2 separate regions of the Homo sapiens genome follow, and region 1 is linked to region 2. The links are contacts of gene promoters, found by promoter capture Hi-C in human tissues and cell types (Jung and others, 2019). All regions are on one chromosome and are shown on one strand. The core of a region is centred on a gene start or on the middle of the fragment in contact, and the rest is flanking DNA. Distances in the headings are between cores, read along the strand shown.

Region 1 (3,822 bases), core at 185-2,684, 190 kb before region 2:
AAAAGAGTCTCCTGAAAATTCCTCCTCCTGAGAGTTCATTCTCCCAAGTACTGGAATATCATGATTACCTTCAAAGTAAGAACTAGGGCTCCCTAGATTAAAAATAAGTGTGAGTTAATAATCATTATTTGCATAGCATTTCCATTTACAGAATGCTGCCAGATACAATTTTGTCAGTGGCATATATAATTGTTATATCCATTTTGCAGATGAGGAAACTAAGGCTCAGAAAGATGCTTTGCCCAACATCAGCTCATCAGTAAGTAGAACAGATGGAATACAAAACCAGGTTCTCTTAATTTCAGGATCTGTCTCTTTAGGGGAAAGGTAAATGCTTATATTTTAAAAAAGAACATAAAGTTAGGAAATAGGACGGATATAAGACAAATTCAAAATAAAATATACCCTTCATCATCAACACACTAATATTAAGATGAGTCTAATTGGCTCGCTATTGTTTCTTTCTGCCAACAGGACCCTTCTGATACATTTGCTTGCTTTTCCCTTCTCACTCTTGCCTCTTTTGCTCACATATGCTTCTTCACATCAATGCCTATGGCAATCCCCACCAGTGAATGGCCCCCCCCAACTGTGCCAGCCATTGTTACAACAGCATCCTGCCTCTTTAGGGCCTGCTCATTCCCTATAACTCTCACTCCTTTTTCCCTTCAGTGCCAAACACTCTTAAGACCGACTCCCTCATCTGGAACAATGAGACCTAGAGACTCATGCCAACATATTGTAATTCTCCAACAAGCTGCCAGTGCCAAGAATTAAACCACATTTGCTCCAGTGCAGTAGCTTTACACACAAGCTCAGGTATTTGCTTTGTGTTTATGTAGGTTTTTTTCCTTAATCTCCCTTCAGCTGCTGTGGCAGAGCTCATTGAAAAATCGAACAAACAAAAAGTACGCTATGTATGATATTTGACTTTTAAACAAAGTCACAGGAGTTAGGTTATACCAAACCTATCACTGTTGATACTTTAATTTTGCAGCTTAAACTAAGCTGTTTTATTCTTGACATGTGATAGTGTACACATTGAGGAATGGAAGTTGTCTTCTGGAGGTAACTAGATTTCAAAATATACCAATATCTCCTTCAAAGTAAGAAAGTAAAAGCACATGTAGACTATTCATGCCATAAAATAAGAATTATAGAGCTGAAAAGGTCTTTATATATCATTTAGATAAGCACTTCATAAAAGCAATTGAGGAAAACATATATCTGACATAAATGGAACATAAATGGTTTGGCTACTTAAAACTAAAACAACACACGCATTCGATTGTCATGCAAATCTAATTAACACTAAACAAATTTATATTTCCTCTCTACAAGATTTAGATCATTTTAGGTACTAACAGGTTGGTAATTTTTAAACTAGTTACAGATTATGTAGTATTTTTAAAATATTTGACCAAGGAAATTAGTGTTGGGAGATGACCGTGTGTATGGCTCAATACGATTTGGGTAATAACTGGTTTAGACCAAACTTTTCATTTTACAGACTAAAAAAGTACCAATTAGAGATGCTAAATAACTTGCCTAATATCACAAACCTATATAAAGGCAGAACTTGCAGTCCAATTTCCAGTTCAGTGTTCTTAACAGTATATCACATACTACCACAAAGTTTTTTAAATAGACGGCCAAACTCTTGAAAAATGAAATTGTAGTTCTATTTTATTCACTTTGTCTAGCTTAAATTAGTAATTATTTGATAGGTGGTACTGTGGGCTAGTCTGTTTTAGAACTAAGTATTATTAACTCGATAATCTGTTTAAATTAGGTACTGTTAACTTGATGTTCTACTCTTGGAAGCTTTCATCTGGTAGCACCATGAAACTGAAGAATAAATACAAGTTAGTGCATTTATTTAACCGAATTTATTTTTCTTCAAAAGGCTAATTACACTTTAATATGTTGCTATTTATTAAGTTATGTATAATAAAATTATTTTTGAGGGGAAGATTGAGCTAAATCTGGAAATCATATATCAGTAAGAGTTCAATTCATGTTGACAATAGCTGCATATCTACACAATATTAGGGAGCAAATATTAAACAGCACAGTTTAAGTAATATTGACCTTTACATATCTGGAAAGCTATTTGTACACTAAAAACCAGAAGGCCCCTTAACAGTCCCCTTAGTCAAGTATTACAGCTAGTCGGCCACTGGACATACCAAGTTCTTCTAGGAAATATCAAAAAATAACCTGGGCACAGTGGTGGGCCTATAGTCCCAGCTACTCAGGAGGCTGAGGCGAGAATACTGCTTCAGGCCAAGAGCTTGAGGCTGTAGCGTACTTTGTTTGCACCTGTGAATAGCCACCACACTCCTGCCTGGGCAATGTAGCAAGATTCCCCCCTCTAAAAAATTCGTAATATAACACATACCACAACAAACAATAGAAACACACAAGAAACTCCATAGCATTAAGATTTAGATAAGCTTTATTTTTATATGTGATTGTCCTGAAGTGAATTAAACACTGGAAATACTTTACGTTTAGTATTGCCAAAATACTTGTTTGTTTCCACTTGAAAGTTAATGAGAGCCTGTTAATACAAAAAGAAAAAAAAAAAAGTCTTTGGCTGACTCAAGTTTTACAATTTTTAATGTGAAGTTTTTAGAAAAATGTAATGTAATACTTAAATCATTAGTCATAGGCTTAAATTTTCTTGTTGCATCAGCTGAACCTGCTCAATTATAATTGGTTTTATATCACATTTTAGAAGAATATCTTTTATCACATGATTATGCCATAATCAATATGGTATCATTACTACATATCAATAACCTTAGGTTTACTCCTCACAAGACATATTTTCTATACAAAAATCTCCACTAAAAGATAGGCATTATTCATATGTGATAGAAAATCATTCTTTCATCCACTCTATCACTCACAAAGTAACTGCATTTTCTTATATAGACTACAACTCTTTGTTTTGTTCTTATTTCAAATATTAAATCCCAGCATTTCAACAAGAAATTGAAGAGCTAGTCCTCATGCACAAAATCTCCTTTATATTTTACTACCAAATATTTACAATGATAATATAATGTCACATATAACCTGACTCCATCACTTATTAAGTTTTGTGCCCTTTGGCAAGTAATGTAACCTCTCTATGCTTCCATTCACTTACCTGCAAAAGAGGCTAATAACTGCACTTACTTCATATGCTTGTTGTGAGAAGTAAATGAGATAATTTATGTAACGCCATTAAAACAGTGCCAGGCACATAGTGACACCCAAAAATGTTGACTAACATTACAACTACAACTTACTATAAAACAACCTAGGAAAATAATTTCAAAAAATCAAGTAAAATATGCTTCACCTTGCCTGTCATGAAAACTACCCCAAAATCAAAAGTTTCATCAAAGAGTAATAGGGCTACTTGTACCCATTTTTATGAAATAACCACCTACTATTAATGTATTTGGTTATCTACCATTCCTATGACTTCTTCAGTTTGATCTTATCAATAAAGATGATAAAGGAATGTAGTAAGTATGAAGGACTGGGGAGGTGCCACTTCTATTAAGTTAATGTATAAAACGCCCGTAAACAGCACAAATACAAAATTGCTCAATTAATCTTTGCCTTTTTTTTTTCTTTGTTTGACAGTTGTCTTTCTAACTTCCCAAAGGTTCTATTAGGTCCTCAACAATATCTAAAGCTTTTAAGCCAGTGCTGTTGACAAGTGAAAGAGAACAACAAATAGCTTTGTAGTGCTCTTTTCCCAGGGTCATTCAACCAATGGTAATAGTTATTATTTTTATATATTAGCACTGAGCCCTGTCCTTT
Region 2 (3,601 bases), core at 1,049-3,548:
TGATAGTTTAGTTACATCATAAATACCTCCTTTGAAGAATATAAATATTCAATATTGTGTCTACATGATACACTGTATCATGCATGGGTGCCTATAGAGACACTCACCCGTACAAATTCAATGTAAACAAATAGTAATGATTTGCTGAGATCTTTGTATGTATTACCAATTACAACCACAGGGGAAATTATTAAGGAACGTTATATTGTGTGACATTTTTCAGAATTATTTTAGCTACTAATATTTCTAAATATGATAGTCATACTAACAACCCTATTGATTATCACTTGCTTATTTAATTAGCTAGTTAGAAAAGCATGCCTCTGGGTGAAAAAAAAAAATGAAATTCCCACCAGGAGGAAAAAAGATGTTAACAGATTTGAGCATCAGAATAGGAAAGGGAAAAGTTTAGTTTAAAAAGAGATAATTGAAAAAAAAATACAAATAAAGTTCACAGCAGGAAGCTTGCCTATATAGAGAAATAGGCTACAGCCTGTTAATATGTAACTACCTTTTTATAAGTACAATCTGTTAACAGGCTTACAAATCAGCCTCAGAGTTGTATTTGCAAAAAGTATAATTAGAATTAAAGAATATTATCATTTAAGTGCTACTCTGTGCATTCTAGAAAACTTAACTGTGTTAAATTAGCAAATCGCTACATTAGGTAATGTACAGTATGTTCCACTATGAATAACTTCAACATCTACCTATGATATAAGGCTATATTTGCAAATAAAAGCTCACTAATTAAAGAGTTAATATATAGAAGTGAAAATTTTAATTCAAAACTGTTAAGAAAGCTCAAACATTCGCTGGAATTATCTAGTAAAGATGCAATTTAATTATTAAAAAAAAAAACACAGAAGAAATCAAAGAAAGATGACAGCACCGAAGTATATGTGTTGGCTATTTTACTTTCTTCCCTGATTTGATACTGGCTTTTCTAATATGTGACCACATTCAAGCGTTACTTTATCCTCAATACTCTTTTTCTCTTCCATTGCTTCACTTCTAGAATGTTTTAATCTTTGTCCTTTCTTTTTTCGTCTTTTCATATCAAATTCAGTCGTTTGAGCGATGAACAGCTTGACTTAGCATATTTTTAACCAGCTGGTCTAGCACCTAGCTTGCATTGCATAGTCAGATACAACAAATGTTTATACAGAAGGTAGCTTTCATGAAAATGAAAAAAAGCCTGGGTATCATGCATCCTGGCTTTTTTTAGCTTTTTTTTTTTTAATTCACCATACAGAATACAAAGTTTGAATTCTTTTTAATGGCAAACAAAATTCTATTTATAGTTCAAAAAAATGAACTTATGCTGGGATAAGAACTCAAATTTAAAAATTGCAATGTGTACTTATAGGAACATTAAGAGGGCTAAAATTCTTTCAAAGCCCTGCTTTACTTGCAACAACATCAAATAAAAGGATGCTGCAGATATTTCTCTAAATAGGAACAACTTAATTACAAATACACTATTCCCATCATAGCAAAAGGGGAAAATACAGTAAATTAAAATTCAGTCAAGACAGCTAACACAAAAAGTGGCCACTAAAACTTAGAAAGGGAACAGCTCCATTTATCCCCTTTTCGCCCCTATTTTTGACACTTAGGGAGTAATCTAATATAGCGATGATGTTAAATTTTCTTTGGGGGGAAAAAACGCTCTCTTATATCAACAAAAGGTCATGTGCTTTACTGAGCAGCTTCCAAAGTTTTACGGAAGGATCAAATAGGAACTTATAGCCTCCGTTTAAAGCACCACTAAAACCTTCTGTCACCCTAGAAATTACATGAGACAGAGATGCTGAAAATGGTAACATTCTGCACAAAAGCGTTTTTAAAAGGTGGGGAGAAAACAATCAATGAAGGAAGAAAGTAAGAGAGTGAATGAGAAAGACAGAAGCAGCGAGTTGGGGAGAGAGAGAGAGATGCTTAAGGTTCATTTAATTTGCTGTTATAGGACGCAACCTAAAAACATTAGCAGAAATCTCGGAGACTTTGCAAATCAGTTCAGTTTGGTCCGGGCAATCACAACAAAAAATCAGCTAACAAGATTGCAGAAGCCCTAGCTAAAGGCTTCTCTAACAAACACGTTTTGGGGGAGCATCTTCCAATGATTCAGAGACTACTGTAAAATGGGAGAGTTGTACTTCAATATATTAGGGGGAAAAAACTGTACTCACCTTTCAAACTCCTGAGGTAAATCAGGGTCAGTAAGCATGCTGGAAAAGCACAATTTCCCTTTGTCACAGCAGCCACCTATGATCGTCTCCAACTGAACCTGTCAAGTGAGTCCAAACCTTCTAAACCAATTGATTTTCTCTCTGTCTCTTCCCCCCCTCCCTCCCTCCCTCTCTCTCTCTCTCTCTCTCCCTCTCTCTCTCTGTCTCTCTCTCTCTCTCTCTCTCTCTCTTTCTCCCCCCCTCCTTCCCCTCCTCTCTCTCCTAGGACTCCTTGACCAGTCTCTTAAAGGGGTAGTGCACTTCCAGCAGCGGAGTCTGGCTGCTCCCCCCTCCGCGGAGCCACACGCTCCGGCTGCAAGGCTCTAGACAACCTCAGGGTGCCTGTCCTTTCCTTTTAATTCTCTCTTCTAGACATCACTGAATGTGAGAAGTCAACTCATTTAACACGTCTCCCATACTCTGTCTTCTAAATCATAAAACTCACACACACACATACACACGCAGAACAGTATGATTTTGTAAAACGTATTTGCTGCTGATTAAAAACCTAGTCTATATAATAACAGAAGCTCGATTAAACTGCATTTATTAACTAATTAAGCAAAAAATTTAATGTTAGTAATAGCATTTTTACACAAAGAATTGTTATTCCTTCTCACCCTTTTCTAGGCTCTCTCCGTTCACACACGGAAATACACGCACACACACACACACACACTCACACACACACAACAATCAGGCATTGTTCTGAGGGAAGAAAAGCAACTTTGACAGATTGAAATATAGCAGAGGCCCCTTCAAGGAAACCTGTAAACAACTTGTCACTCACTCTGTCGGTCTCACTGTTAGCTCGTGCTTTCCGCAAAGTGGTGCGAACGTCCTGGCAACCCGACCAAAGTTTCCTCAGCTCTAAACTCCATAAAACACGATGTGCGATGTGGAGGGGAATAGGTATCCACATGCCAAAATAACATACACGAGCGAACAAAAACCCAAAACGAAATCAAAACATAAAAACAAAAAGACGGTACTAACAAACTGTCCTGTTTGGGATCGCTGGGGAGGTCAGGAGTAGGAAGCGCCCCCCTGGCTGTGGATCTCTTTAATTTCCTCTGCCCAGGCAGCCACAGATAACAAGGTGGACAAACTATGGCTTTACAGATTCTAAGCTGGCTGGCAAGGCACAGCCTCCATAGCAGTTCCAATTATCTAGATAAAAATCTGGCAGCCGAGAAAGGTAATCAGGTAATGTACCTTTGACACGAAATGACAGAGGCACATACACACAGAGAGAGAGACACTTACACAGACATGCATGCAGAGATGGTGGCTGCCCCGTGCACCGCAGCATCTGGTCAGGGAGTAAGCACACACTTACCAACAGGAGATAGTGTGCATTCTTCACACAC

The links. The method cuts DNA at HindIII sites, captures the fragments that hold promoters and counts their contacts. A contact is called where the count stands out against the background at its distance.
Region 1: a contact is called between a fragment that was not itself captured here and the fragment with the promoter of SOX5 in region 2, in 2 of the 25 tissues and cell types used here (heart right ventricle and stomach).

Annotation. Positions count from the first base shown.
Region 1 is chr12:23,760,035-23,763,856 of GRCh38, forward strand. All of the region lies in intron 3 of SOX5 (SRY-box transcription factor 5), which reads right to left. Among named protein-coding and RNA genes, the nearest start is that of SOX5, 190 kb to the right of the region's middle. The HindIII fragment of the contact is 3,281 bases long and covers 1-3,075 here.
Region 2 is chr12:23,947,372-23,950,972 of GRCh38, forward strand. It overlaps SOX5 (SRY-box transcription factor 5), which reads right to left and starts at 2,299. Exons shown (of 15, transcript NM_006940.6): 1 at 2,193-2,299. The coding sequence starts at 2,230. The HindIII fragment of the contact is 5,378 bases long and covers 1-3,601 here.